Regions from separate parts of the Homo sapiens genome. Here region 1 is linked to region 2. Evidence: promoter capture Hi-C in 16 types of primary human blood cells and fetal thymus (Javierre and others, 2016). All regions are on one chromosome and are shown on one strand. The core of a region is centred on a gene start or on the middle of the fragment in contact, and the rest is flanking DNA. Distances in the headings are between cores, read along the strand shown.

What was found. The method cuts DNA at HindIII sites, captures the fragments that hold promoters and counts their contacts. A CHiCAGO score of 5 or more calls a contact.
Region 1: a fragment that was not itself captured here is called in contact with the fragment with the promoter of THAP5 in region 2 in 12 of 17 cell types (non-activated CD4 T cells, activated CD4 T cells, naive B cells and 9 more); the score reaches 24.1 in non-activated CD4 T cells.

Annotation. Positions count from the first base shown.
Region 1 is chr7:111,565,457-111,573,084 of GRCh38, reverse strand. No RefSeq gene overlaps it. Among named protein-coding and RNA genes, the nearest start is that of IMMP2L, 6.8 kb to the right of the region's middle. The HindIII fragment of the contact is 6,837 bases long and covers 1-6,716 here.
Region 2 is chr7:108,568,215-108,575,574 of GRCh38, reverse strand. THAP5 (THAP domain containing 5) reads left to right here and starts at 5,869. Exons shown (of 3, transcript NM_001130475.3): 1 at 5,869-6,085. The coding sequence starts at 6,006. DNAJB9 (DnaJ heat shock protein family (Hsp40) member B9) reads right to left here and starts at 5,701. Exons shown (of 3, transcript NM_012328.3): 1 at 5,472-5,701; 2 at 3,632-3,858; 3 at 725-2,676. The coding sequence starts at 3,848. The coding sequence ends at 2,222. RefSeq lists enhancers at 5,546-6,273, 5,807-6,286. The HindIII fragment of the contact is 6,219 bases long and covers 594-6,812 here.

The DNA of each region.
Region 1 (7,628 bases), core at 2,049-4,548, 3.0 Mb before region 2:
TCCTTTGGCTGTATTTTCAAATAGCCTGTCTTCAAGCTCCCTAAATCTTTCTTCTGCTTGATCAATTCTTGTTGCGGGAAGTCAGGGACCCCAAAAGGAGGGACCGGCTGAAGCCATGGCAGAAGAATGTGGATTGTGAAGATTTTATGGACATTTATTAGTTCCCCAAATTAATACTTTTATAATTTCTTATGCCTGTCTTTACTGCAATCTCTAAAAATAAATTGCAAAGATTTCATGGACACTTATCACTTCCCCAATCAATACCCTTGTGATTTCCTATGCCTGTCTTTACTTTAATCCCCTGATCCTGTCAGCTGAGGAGGACGTATGTCACCTCAGGACCATGTAATAATTGCATTAACTGCACAAATTGTAGAGCATGTGTGTTTGAGCAATATGAAATCTGGGCACCTTGAAAAAAGAACAAGATAACAGCAATGTTTAGGAAAAAAGAGAGATAACCTTAAATTCTGACCGCTGGTGAGCCGGGCAGAACAGAGCCATATTTCTCTTCTTTCAAAAGCAAATGGGAGAAATATCGCTGAATTCTTTTTCTCAGCATGGAACATCCCTGAGAAAGAGAATACACGCCTGGAGTTTTAGGCTTATAAACAGCCCCCGCAAGGTGTGCCTGTCTCTTATGGTCGAAACTGCAGAGATGAAATAAGCTCCAGTCTCCCATAGCGCTCCCAGGCTTATTAGGAAGATGAAATTCCCACCTAATAAATTTTGGTCAGACCGGTTGATCTCAAAACCCTGTCTCCTGATAAGATGCTATCAATGACAATGGTGCCTGAAACTTCATTAGCAATTTTAATTTCACCTCGGTCCTGTGGTCCTGTGCTCTCGCCCTGCCTCCACTTGCCTTGGGACATTCTATTACCCTGTTAAGTACTTGATGTCTGTCACCCATACCTATTCGCACACTCCCTCCCCTTTTGAAAATCCTTAAAAAATACTTGCTGGTTTTTGTGGCTTGTGGGGCATCACAGAACCTACCGACATGTGATGTCTCCCCCGGATGCCCAGCTTTACAATTTCTCTCTTTTGTACTCTGTCCCTTTATTTCTCAAACTGGCTGACACTTCGGAAAAATAGAAAAGAACCTACGTGAATATCAGGGCAAATTCCCCGACAAATTCTGCTATTAAAGTACTCTGATGGATTCTTTAGTCTGCCAATTGCATTTTTTAGTTCCAGAATTTCTGCTTGATTCTTCTTAGTTATTTCAATCTTTTTCTTAAATTTATCTGATATTATTCTGAATTCCTTCTCTGTGTTATCTTGAATGTTTTTGAGTTTCTTCAACCTATCTCTGTTTCTCTAGGATTGATCCCTGGTGCATTATTCAGTTCATTTGATGAAGTCATGTTTTCCTGAATAGTGTTGATCCTAGTAGATGATCTTTGGTGTCTGGGCATTGAAGAGTGGATATTTACTATAGTCTTCACTGTCTGGGCTTATTTATAGCCATCTTTGGGAAGGCTTTCCAGATATTTGAAAGGACTTGGGTGTTGTGATCTACAAGGACGTGAGTGTTGTGATGTACTTCAGGGAGCACCCCAAACCCAGTAATGCTATGATTCTTGCAGACTCACAGAGTACTGCTTTGATGGCCTTGGACAAAATCTGGGAGAATTCTCTAGATTACAAGGCAGAGACTCTTGTTCCTTTCTTCTTACTTTCTCCCAAACAGCCTCTGTCTTTGTTCCAAGCCACCTAAAGCTAGGGATGGAGTAACACAAACACCCCTGTGGCCACCACCACTAAGACCGTGCCGGGTTAGACCTGAAGCCAGCAGAGCACTGGTACTTGACCAAGGCCTCCTATAACCACCCCCTGGCTACTGCCTATGTTTGCTGAAGACCCTGGGGCTCTACTATCACCAGATGGCAAAGCCAGCCAGGCCTGTGTCCTTCCCTTCAGGGAGGGAAGGTCCCCCAGCCCACCAGTGGGTACAGAAGTGCCATTGTCTAGGAGTCAGAGACTAGAGTGAAAAACCTTAGAAGTCTACCTGGTGTTCTATTGTATTGTGGCTGAGCTGTTAAACAAACCACAAGATGCTGTCCTTCCCACTCTTCCCTCCCCTTTCCAAAGGCAGAGGAGCCTTACCCTATAGCCACTGCCATCCTGGGCCATGAAGAGTACTGCCAGACTACCACTGATGTTCCCTTAATGCCCAACAGCTCTTAAGTCAGCTTGTCATGAATGCTGCCTGGCCTGGGACTCACCCTTCAGGGTAGTGGACACCCCTCTGGCCCAGGACAGGTCCGGAAATGCTGTTCAAGAGTAAAATCCTAGAATCAGGGACCTCGAGAGCTTGCTTGATTTTCTACCCACTGTGGCTGGGCTGTTACCTGAAGCCATTCTCTTCTGGTCCAGGGTGTGTCTAGAAATGTTCTCTGGGAACTAGGGCCTGGAACAGGGGCCTTGCAGCCTTGCAAGTCTATCTGGTGCCCCATCCTGTTGTGGCTGAGCTTGTACCGTAGATGCAGGACAAAGTTCTCCTTGTTCTTCCCTCTCTTCTCTTCAAGTGGAAGAAGGTGTCTCTTTTGGAGCTGCAAACTGTGCAGCCTGAGGTTAGGAGAGGGGTGAGGCCAGCACTTCCTTGACTACCTATCCAGTGTCTCAGTATGTCACATGCCCCACCAGTCCACTGTCCTGGGCCTACTTCAGCACTAGGATATGCCTAAGAGTTGTAGTCCTTATGGCCTAGACTGCCTTTCAAGTTTACTTGGAGACAGACAGCTGTAGCCCTGGGTGGCGAGGTTTGCAGGCACTCAAGTCCCCCTCTGGCTAGGGCTAGTTTAAATGTTCTCTCTGTGGGTGGACACCAGCTGAGTTTGGGGTTTCCTTTCTGCTCTAACAAGACAGCACCGAGTTCAACGCCGCACAATTGCTGTGTTCTCACTCCCCCAGCACCCAAGGACACTCTCCACACCATGCTGCTCCTGGGGTCGGGGAGGAATAGGGGGTGGCATCGGCAATTCAGTACTATTTTTTCTCTCTTTGTTGCCTCTTTCAGCACTATGAAGTTAAAGCAAGGTACTATGAGTGCTCACCTGATTTCTTGTTCTTATGAAGGTGTTTTTTTCCATGTAGATAGTTGTTAACTTGGTGTGGGTTAGTGGGAACGATTCGTGGAGCTTTGTATTTCACCATCTTGCTTCGTCTCCCTCTTTCCCAGACTTTTTGAACCCTACCAACTATAGTGTTTAAGTGTGAGTAGAAAATAAAGGGACTTTGTTGAAAATCCTTCTGATTGGTCTTTATTTTTTAAGAGGACTGAATCTTGACCTGCCTTGTAAGAATAGCCTATTAATTAATTTGAAGGCAAGGCCAGGAGAAGGAAGGCTCCTTTAACTGTTGGCCAAAAATTATCCTAAAATACTTAGAGAACAGTTACTCTTTCTAAAAATGTGAATCTAAGTCTTTCATATTTTCATATCAGTTTGTTTACTGGCTACTAACTTTGTAGGCTGAGCAAAATACAAAGAGGAAAGAGTAAAGGACCTCTTTAGCATTAAGGAAAGTAAAAATTTCTTGCCTAGAATTTGTCAAGGTAAGGCAAGGGTGATAGATTCAGCTAGTAAGAAAACAATGAGTTGCCATTTTTAGATTCAGACAGTTTATTACTTACTTGGAAAGCAAAAGCAAGAGTAGCCAAAGATGCCAGCTCTGGTATCCCTTGCACAGGGTGACACTGATACAAAGGAGGCCAGATGACCACAACCTGGATGATAGGGCACCCTGTTCCTGAGGAACCAATGTCATGCTTCAGCTAAGCAGTTTTACAGCCTGAGGCTGTATTCTAGGGAGAATGAGGCAGAAAGTGTCATACCTCCTCAAAACACAGGAGGCAATGAGAAACTGGGAGGTGAATGAGAAATGGCCTTGGGTCAGCTCTTAACAAGCCTCTCATGATCTCATGTTGTAGGAGAATCAACAGAATTCCACCATGACTTAGATCAGCTGCAGTCAAGTCTTGCTGATGTGGCCTTTGTGGAGATGTGCAAGGGCGCATGCAAATGTTCAGGTCACTGTGGTAGAACCCTTCTCCTATATTTAGTTTCTGTAGCCATTTATGTGACTGTGATTTCTGTTAATCAAAAATAATGGCTTTGACCTGAATAAATTATTTACTGATGTAATAAGAAAGTCAAGCAGAATGATTATTCTAGTTCAAAAAGGCTAAAATTATAGGTAAGTCTTCACTAAACCCAAAAGTCACTGATTTGTTTAAATTCTACATTGTGAGATTAAACAAATCTCAGTCACTTCATAAAACCCATTTTCACTTCCCTGCCCCCAACCTTTTTTCCCCCACATGCTTGCCCTGCTTTATGGAACAAACATTGATGAATGAGAGACAGAAGGCAGGAAGGATCCAGTTAAAAAAAGTGCCTTAACCTTTCCCCTCCTGAGGGAGGATTGTTACCCAGTGGTTTCACACAGCCTTCTTGAGATGTCCTGTGTGACTAAGCAACCAACTGCATGTACTGGGATGCTATAATCAGCTTGGAAACATACCACCATGGATCTTCCTCCCTCTGTCCCTGCCTCTGTTCTCCCTTTTCCTTCATTATTGCTTTTCTAGTACTGCAACCCCCAAGAAAATTTTAACATGTGAGCTTGTCTCAGGCACTGTTTTCTAGAAAATCTGAGCTACGGCCGTCACTTATATTTTTAAATATTCATTATACAAAATTTCATACATATACGAAAACCATGGAAAAGTACAAAGAACTCCCCTCATCATCTAGATTCAATAATTATCCATTTTATTTTCTTATTTATGCTATCTCTTTTTCTTCCTTCTTTTTTTTTATGTTGAAGTATAAAGTAAATTCCAGAGAGTATGTCATTTAACTTCAACATACTTCAGAATGCCTCTCCAAAAATTATGGACATTTTCTTACATAATCACAATGCCATTATTACACCTAATAAAATAATATTTCTTTGGTATCATCTAACACCAGTCCATAGTTAAATGTCCGTGATTGTCTTACAAGTCTTTATAGTTGTGATGTTTCAATCAGGATCCAAATAAAGGTTCACATCTTACATTTCATGGCTGTATTTTTTTTAACCTAGGCTTCTCCTGACCCATTCCCTCTCCTGTGTGTCCAGTTATTAACTTGTTGTAGAGACTACATCAATTGTCCTAGAGAGTGTCCTCCATTCTACTCCATTCTAGATTTACCTGTTTCCTTCTTTGTGGCATCTTTTTTTCTTTTTTTTTGAGACAGGGTCTCACCCTGTCATCCAGGCTGGAGTGCAGTGGTGCCATCTTGGCTCACTGTAACCTCCGCTTCCCGGGTTCAAGCGATTCTCCTGCCTCAGCCTCCTGAGTAGCTGGGATTATAGGCACGCACCACCATGCCTGGCTCATTGTTTATTTTTAGTAGAGACAGGGTTTCACCATGTTACCCAGGGTGGTCTTGAACTCCTGGCCCCAAGTGATCCACCTTCCTCGACCTCCCAAAGTGCTGGGATTATAGGTGCGAGCCACTGCGCCCAGCCTCTTTGTGGTGTCATTTAACTTATTCCTGTAACCCTCATGTTTTTTGTAAGCCTGTAAGTGAGAAGTCAGTTTTAAGGCTTGATTAGATCCCATTCATGTTTTTTGGGTGATAACATTTCATAGTTGTGCTGAGTGCTTCAGATGGCATTAGATCAGGAAGCACACAATGTCTGGAGTCCCACTTGTAATGACAGATTATTAGGCTGAGGTAGTGACGGTCTGATCTCCATTGTGAAGTTCCTCATGAACATTTCATCTGTTGGTTTGATCCATTGATGATGGTTGCCTGAATCATTTATTAAATGCAAGATTGCTAAATGGTGGGTTTCCAATTCTGTTGTTTCATATTTATTATAAAAAACAACTTTCCCTCAACACCAATTTGGTTTTCTGATATATAGTTTAATCAGGAAAGATACATCAGAAAATTTGAATTATTTTCTTTTAATGGACAATTTTAGAATAAGGGCTTAATGCTAGCTACTTGCAATAGTGTCCAGTGGATTTTTTTTTTCCTTTTATTGACCTCCCCTTTTTGGAACATCATTAAGAACTCATGAATTTTTATATATTCAGTATGTTTCTAACAACTGCATCCATTACTTTTTTTGATGCTTAAATTGTCCATCTTTGGCCAAAGGAGCTATTTGATATTGGTTTCTGTGTCCCTTTGACACATTTTGTTGTTAATGGATTCCCGGCTTTGTGGGACAAGTTATCCTATGCTCATCTTGTGTATAACCTGACCCAGATCTGAAGTCAGACATTTGGTTGGTCAGCTCTAGTTTCTTTTAGTTGGAAATTGTATTAAAAAACCCCAAACTGGATGATTTACATTATTTTTATTTGTAATAAAAATGAAAGGTTATATATTTAAAATTTTATTCCAAGGTAGTAAGTTTAGAATCAAGTATTTAGTTCATAAATAAAACTGTAATTGCTTGTTTTGTTTTTGTTTTAAGCTCGCTTTTAAATTATTTTTATAAAAGGGGATATACCTTGTTATAAGCATACCTAAAATTGGATTAATAACTATATACCAATCTTACATTTTTTCCAGATGGTACAATTTATATTCAAAATTTTCCAAAACGTTTGAGATGAAGGATATAAATGAAATCTCAAGTGTTTTCATATCAATTCAAATAATAATATCAATTTCATCAGAGTTGCTATAGTAAAAGCTTTTAAAAACTTTATTGAAATGTCATGGTTTGATATGAGCTGACAAATATGAGTTTTAGCTTGAAATAAGTAAAGGGCTATAATTTCAGGTGTTAACAGAAGCCTGTGTGGAAATATATGACATTCAAACAAATGAAATGCAAAAGGCCATTTGGCAGTAATTCTCCAAGTGAGGTTTGAGAACACCTAGGGGTTACTGAAACCCTTCCCGGAGCTTTGTAAGGTCCTCTCTTTTTCAACTATGAATTCGTATGACAGTTAATTTTCTTCATATCTTAGGTATAACAACATATCACAACAGCCTGAATGCAGAGGCAGAATATGAGAATCCAGTGCTCTCCTTAAGCCAGATAATAAGAGATTTATAAAATGTTAAAAATGCCACTTTTCTCTAATTTTTTGGAAAAAAAGTAGTCATTATTTATAAAAATAACTTTTACAGTAACATGTAATGGGTTTAAATTAAGCAAACACATGTCTAACATTTTTCTATCTTAAATTTTAATACAGTAAATATGGACATATATAACCCACATAAACAACAGCTCTTTAAAGTTCTCAATCATTTTTAAGAATGTAAAGAGAACTTGAGATCAAAAAGTAGTTTGAGAACTGCTACTCTATGATACCTTCTATTATTTGCTTACCAATGGTAAGTATGTATAGATAGGAATATATTTTAATATCTATATTTGTGGAATCTGTAAACTTAATTATTTTAACTTTGTTTAAATATCTCTTTGACCATTAGATTTGATGCCTAACTATAGTTTAAATTTGTACCTTAGTTAGGACTTTATGATTCATTTTCCCCTGATGGTATTAACAACAAATAGAGGTCTGCTTTAATATATAAGGAGACAAGGCAAATATATTTGAACTAGATACATAAAGCCAAATATTCAGCTTAGAA
Region 2 (7,360 bases), core at 4,620-7,119:
TAGATCAAATTGCACAGATAGCTGAGAAAAGCAGTTTCTTCAGCAGTTATGTGTCTGCATTAGACCTCCTTTTTGAATAGAAGCGATGGTTCTCAGTAAATTGTCAGGCAGTGGCCAATCATAGCTCACTGCAGCCTTCAACTCCTCCCACCTCAGCTTCCAGAGTATCTGGGATTATGGGTGCATGTCATCACACCCGGCTAAATTGTCAGGGTTTTTTAACCAGCAGGTACCCACAGGTGAGTATGTGGTCTGCATGCAGAGAAATTGTTTCCCACCAAGCCAACATAAGGAGGCTTTACTCTGGGAGTGCTGCCATTTCTCACCAGCACCCCCTTGACCTTCAAGTGAAAATTCACTTCACCTTTACTCTGCCTTCACCTCACACCCTAATACCCTCAATGGGTAAGTCTTCCCCCAAATAACCCCATTCTTTCAAGACTTGTTTAGTCCCTTGCCTGAGGAAAAAGTTACTTTTGTTAACAACTGTTTACCTGGAGGGAGTAGCTAAGAGCAGAGCTTTCCAATGCAGTTCTTCAATAAATTAATATGAATGAATTCTGCACCCTCACCCAAATCCAATCCTTAAAGCTTCTCCAGGACATCCTGATTGTGGTTTTTCTGATTTATCTCCCAAGCCACACTCTTCTGCTTTATATATTACTGGAATGTCTCAAAACTTGATTTTTTTTAAAATAGGCTACAGATAATCCTCAGCCCAAAATTCAAGGTATAGCTAATTTTATTATTATCAAACAAAACTAGTAGATATAACTTCCAGGAAATAAGTTACATAAATATAACAGAATAAATTCATTTTCTTAAGTTTCAAATTAAAGATGATTAAGAAATACAGCTTTATGTAAAGTTTCTGCTTTTTCTCAACCACGCCTAAAGAGGAAAGAACTGGCAGCAGGAACACTTGCTCCTAGGAAACAAATACAACAAAATTATAATTAAAAAGATCTTCAAGCTATCAAAATTTGTGAGAGAAGGATGGTAAGAATGCAGTAGAAATTACCAAATGACAAACAAAATCCTATCAGTTTTCAGGTTGGTCAAAAGTAACTTCATGAATATAGCCTGTGATCAGCATATGTCCCATAGCTTATATGCCCTCTATACCTCCAGAGTTGCATAATAAACTTTTAACAATAAAACAACAACGAATATCAGGTTGTAAATATTTATATTTCTCTCACATACAATGTTGTATGAGACACTTGTTTTAATATGTATCCATAGGATTAATACTCATATGGAGTATAATGTGGAAAAGTGCAGAACTAAAGAAATAAGTCTATCCGAAAACAAAAGCACACATTTCTCAGGATTTAAAAATATTGCACATAGTAAGGTTGCACAGAAATTACTGGCTGGTTTTACAAACAGAATGAGGTATCAGTCAATCTCTAGATAAAGATGAGAGAGAGGATAAACTACACACACACAAACACATAAATCCATACTAAGACCTAAGAGTGCCAACAACTAAGAAAGAAATATGAAAAAGCTATGTAAGTAGCTATGATTTCAACACTACAAAATCATTTTTAGGCTGGAACCAAACACATAACAATCTCTTGGCAATATTTCGTTAAGTTTTCAACTTTTTTCCAGCCTAAATGACTATGGGCAATAAAACCATTTCCTTTACCCCAGTTCTACTGTAGAAAGGCACAGCGCTGTGGTAAATATCAAACCATTCCTTTCTCAACCTTTCAGTAGCAATTAACCAAGATACTGTTCTCCTTTACTGAATGACTCAATTATACAGTTTCATGTACACTCTGCAACGCAAGTCACAGATGTCATAGAACATGCAACTTTGAATTAGTAAAGGTTTCACTGCAAAAATCATTAGGTTCACACAATTTAAATCTACAATTAACTTTTAAAGTTTAATCAGGTAAACTCAATATTTTCTTGGTAATAATACTGGTGATATTAGTGAGCCCAAGGGCAGGTAGAGAAAAAGCACTAGGCAAAATTACGTGTTTTTTAAAGAAACTTTCCTAATCAGGGAAATAATTAGCATTTTGTCTACTCGTTGAATGTTGAATTTGTCAAAAAAAAAAAACCCTTAAATATATTTAATAGCTATATCAAATTGTTTAAAGTGAAATCATGCACTTGTCAAAATAGTTCACAGAAAATTGTTTAGCATCAAAGATAATGAGGAAGAGTCAACCAGTTGGATTTAGTGAGAATAGAATAAGAACTACTGTCCTGAACAGTCAGTGTATGTAGTAACCATATTTCCTCTTCGTTGAGTGACAGTCCTGCAGTGCTTGCTAGATCCATGAAATCTATTTTCAGTCTGTACTGTATGCTGATTGGTAGAGTCAAAACCACTAAAAGAAAACATTTTCTCCATATCTTCAAACATGTCATCAAATAATCCACCTCCAAAAGAAAATTCTTGGAAATGATGCCTTTGTCTACTGGAACCACCATCCTGGCGTGTCTGGAAATGATTTTCAAAACGCTTCTTGGATCCAGTGTTTTGGTTTTGACCAAAAAAGCCAAAGTCTTTAAATAAGTCATCAAAATTGAAGTTAAATGACTGCTCAAAAGAACTTCCACTACCTCTTTGTCCTTTACCACTAGTAAAAGCACTGTGTCCAAGTGTATCATACTCTTTTCGTCTATTAGCATCTGAGAGTGTTTCATATGCTGAAAGTGACAAAAATATTTTTAGTAACTGAAGGTAAAATATTCAAAATTACATATATTCAAATCTCTTCAAGCAAGTGAACTGAATACTATTATTTTAGGGAAGAATTTCGCATCAGAAATAAAAGCAAAACACTACAAATATAAGCATCAAGTTAATCAAAATTATAAAATAAAGCAGAAACTGTCTTATTAACTGCTGAGTTATCAGCAGTTGGCACAATGCCATCTGCAATACTCAATAAAGTTATTAAATGTTACCATTACTACAAATAAACATGTGGGCAACAATCAGAGTTCTTTAATCTTCATATTATTCGTGTGAAATCATTAATTGTATTAAAAAATTAAACCATCAACTATAACCAATTAATAGGAATTAAGATTTTGCACCTCCTTACTAAAGTAAACTGTTTAATTCTAACTCCCTACTCAGTTACCTCCATCCAACAATAATTACTGAATGCTCAGCAGGTGCAATTTGTTTTAGAGCTAGTCTGAAGTCAAAATTTGTTCCAATTTTTTCTTTGAAGACAAATATGGCTTTGAAAAGCAGATCAAGTGAATAAAGCACTTTAGAGTCTAGTTTAATTTTTAAGTCTTTAATGTTTAAAATGTAAAATATTCTGTTTCATAAGTTAGTTGATAAGAATTTTGGGTACCTAAAATTCTTTTTTGTCATAGAAGCAACAGTGATCTTATAAATAATATAGAATAGATTTTCAATATTTTTAGATACGTATACCAATAAAATTATCTATTATTCTTTCATATATTTATTCAGGAATCAAAGCATCTGTGATAAGAAAATAATCTCAGAGAATCACCCAATATTTATACATAAATCCCACTCCACCTCCCATCTCCACAAAACCTTCAAATACAAACACTTCTTAGCTATCATTCTCCTTACTAGTTAATACCCATGACACTTCAGAGATTGTCATTTATTTACCTTCTGCAATCTCTCTGAATTTTGCTTCAGCATCCGGGCTCTTATTTTTGTCAGGGTGGTACTTCATGGCCAACTTGTGAAAGGCCTTCTTGATTTGGCGCTCTGATGCCGATTTTGGCACACCTAAGATATCATAGTAGCTTTTTGAGGCCAGAATTAATTCTGTTATCATTAAAATGCAGATTGCAAAGATGAAAATTGACTGGGGAGTAGCCATTTCTAATATCCTAAAACAGAAAAGAAAAAAAAATGTTATGGATGGAGCTAATCTTAAAACGTTTTTCTTTTAAAAGAAATCCAACACAAGGTAAACCTAATGCAGTATCAAAATAGTAAGCATACAGTATCTATTACCTGTCCACATGTAATTTCACTTTTAGTTTTATAACTCTCAAACTGGCTTAACCTTATTGAGAACAAAAATAATTCTTGGCTTTGTCTGTCTACTAATACTCTGGCCATACACAGAGGAGATAGAAAATTATCAATAACTGACTTTTAACCAGTTTATATTGAAGATTCATCATATGCAAGCATTGTAAGAAAAAAAAAGAAAACCAAATAATATAAGATCCCAACTTTCCTTTCAAGACTTCATATCCTGAAAGTAATAATGTATTTAACTTCACAGAAAAAAAAAACATTAAAAAAAAAAGGTGGCGCACCAAGGTAAATAGCCCAGTATATCTAAATTAGTATTATTAATCTCGCTCCAAAAATTCAGCTTTCATTTCAGCAGGTGAGCCAAGGACTGCAAATAGAGAATCTTAATATCACAATACTAATACTGACAATACAATAGAATGTTGTCTTTTTCCCAAATGTAAGATCCCAAATGTTTAACCAGGAAGCATGGCTAAATATTGTTTAAAACTCATGATGAACAGAATTTAAGATTTCTGCTAAAGCTGCCAGAAAAATGAACTTTGATAGTTTGTACTGTGGTTAAGGCAGATTCTTACTTTCACAAACTCAGTAGTTAAAATATTTCTTTTACCTTTAAACCATTAAAGAAATGTTAACTTAGAATTCTTGACAATATGTATTCAATGACTTGAGATTCAAAACGAAGGGATGGATCCTGTTTTTTGAATACGGGACCACCAGAGTCCTTAGTAACCTATAATGCCATAATAAGGCTGACGAAAAACACTACGGTTTGTGGAAATTGCCTGGCTTCCTCTCCAGCGGCCTTTCCTGAGAGTAATTAGCAGGCAGGTAGATTACTTATTTCCAGAGAGTTACTCGTAGTCACGGGTACCAAGAATCAAGAACCACTTCTCGGTTTAAGGAACACAACAGTGTGTCCCATGGACGCTGCGTCAACTGCAGGTTGCTCCCTAGTCAAAGGGCGGATCTAAAACTGACAGGGAGGCGCCTCACTGGTTCAGCAGACGTTATTCCACGGTCTCAAGGTGGACATCTAATGATTTTTTTTTAGCAGACTAGTTTTGTATTGTACAGACTTCTCATCCCCAAGACGGCCCCGCCAGCCAGCAGCCCGTGCCTTATTCCCCAGCCTCGGTGGGCGGCTGGGCTAGACCCTCCAACCTTCACCTAAAGGCGACTGGCACTTTCCCTGCCCGCCCAGGCCCCGCCGCAGAAGCTGCCCGAGACCCGGGCTCTAATCCGGCGCCCGTGAAAGCCGGCGCCACAACCCAAAACACGATTCTGTGATGCGGCTGTCTCCGTTCTTCCATTCTCTCGGCCAAAAACATGCAGCCCATTGTCCCTGCGGCGACCGTGGCGGACACCGAGGCCAAGTCAGCTCACAAAGACAGGCCTGGGCTACGGGGACCCTCCGAACTCCCCTCCCCACGACCCCGGCCTCGTCCCTCACCTGCACCCTCCGACTACTGCTGCTCCTCCACAGAGCTGAGGCGCTGGCGACCCTGACGATCGGCTCGGGTCGGCAGCTTGGGCCCGGCCCCTCACCGCGGCCTCCCGGAGCTGGCACGCACCCTAATCTCGGTCGTACACCGACCTAGCGCTCCTCCTTCCCCGCCGGCGCCCAGTCCCCTCTCAGCCAGCTCCTCACAGGCAGGAGGTAGCCGCTGGCGCCACCACCTCAGAAGACCTACACGAAACGCTTCCCCATTGGCTTCTGCCTCCCCACGTGATCCCGGCGCCCTACGCGCACGTGGAAAACTGTTGTTGCTGCTAGGGCTGTGCGCCACTTCCGGCTTCAACCCCCGAAAAGGCGGTGCTTAAACCGGAGGAGGCGGAAGTGAGTCGACAGACGAGGCGGCTTTCCCGGCAGAATGCTAGCGCAGGCGCAGGGGCTCGAGAGGCCTGGACCTGTGGCGCATCCTCAGTGAGGAGGGCCGCCCTGCATCCGTCGCCGGCCCCGGTCTCCAGGGGCCTCACCCGAGTCATGCCCCGCTATTGCGCAGCGATTTGTTGTAAGAACCGCCGGGGACGAAACAATAAAGACCGGAAGCTGAGTTTTTATCCGTAAGTTGTTTCTGGAGCAGAAGCGTCAGCCTCGCCGTGAGGCCTTGGACCTGTGGCCTTTGGGCTTGGGTGTCTCCTGTCCGCTCTGCCAGTGAGTCCTCAGCTCTCCGTACGTGGCCCGTCGCCCGCGGCAAGACGGAGGGAAGGCGCTAGTTCAGTTTAGCTAGCAATGCCCTTCTTGCGCGAGGACTGCTGGCTGGTGGCGAGGCCCAGGAGCCTGTTTGGGTGTTAACAGTTAAAACAGTAAAGTTTGCGCGGGCTTCTGTGGTTTTCAGTCTTTTCCCCACTTCACGTGATCTCATTTCATTGAACAACATTAACCACCATTTAAGATACGTGAAACCTGCGAAGTGGAAAGGTGCACGCAAAGTTAATTTACACCCCCCGCGAGGTAGGTCGCATAGGTATAATTTCATCCCACTTTTCTCCTGAGGAAACTGAGGCCCGGAATGATTAGGTAACCGACCTTGAAAGTTTAGTGTCAGAGCCAGAATTATAAACTAGTCTTCTGCTTAGGGCTGTAGATACTCTGCGGAGAACAAGGTTTTATTCTGTTACTCTGAATTACTAGAGCCACGATATATTTCCATCAAACTACTGAAGCACTGATTTTTATTCAGAAGTACAGACAAGCAGTGTCGTATAATAATTAGGGGTCCAGGCTTCAATGCTAGATCCTGGTTCCACTATTCTGTAGCTTAATGACCTCTTGGAAAGTATTTAAGCTTTGGTGTCTCACATATCTCATCTGTAACATGGAGATGTTAATAGTACTCACATGATTAATAACACATGAAAAGCAACATATTTAAAATACTGCATTTCCATTTTTTCTTGTATTTAAAAACAATTCATTTAGATCTAACCTGGTTCAGATTTTCAGCAGTTGTTTTGTGCTCATTTTACTTTAGACCTGAAGGACTTATTCATTAATGATTCGGCTGCTTTCCAGTATTTTAATTAATGGAAAAAAAATTGATAACCCCACCAGGCGCGGTGGCTCACGCCTGTAATCCCAGCACTTTGGGAGGCTGAGGCGGGCAGATCACCTGAGGTCGGCAGTCTGAGACCAGCCTGACCAACATGGAGAAACCCCGTCTGTACTAAAAATACAAAATTAGCTGCGCGTGGCGGCGCATGCCTGTGATCTCAGCTGCTCGGGAGGCTGAGGCAGGTGAATCGCTTGAACCTGGGAGGTGGAGGTTGAGGTGAGCCGAGATCACACCATTGCACCACAGCCTGAGCAACAAGAGCGAAACTCCGTCTCAAAAGAAA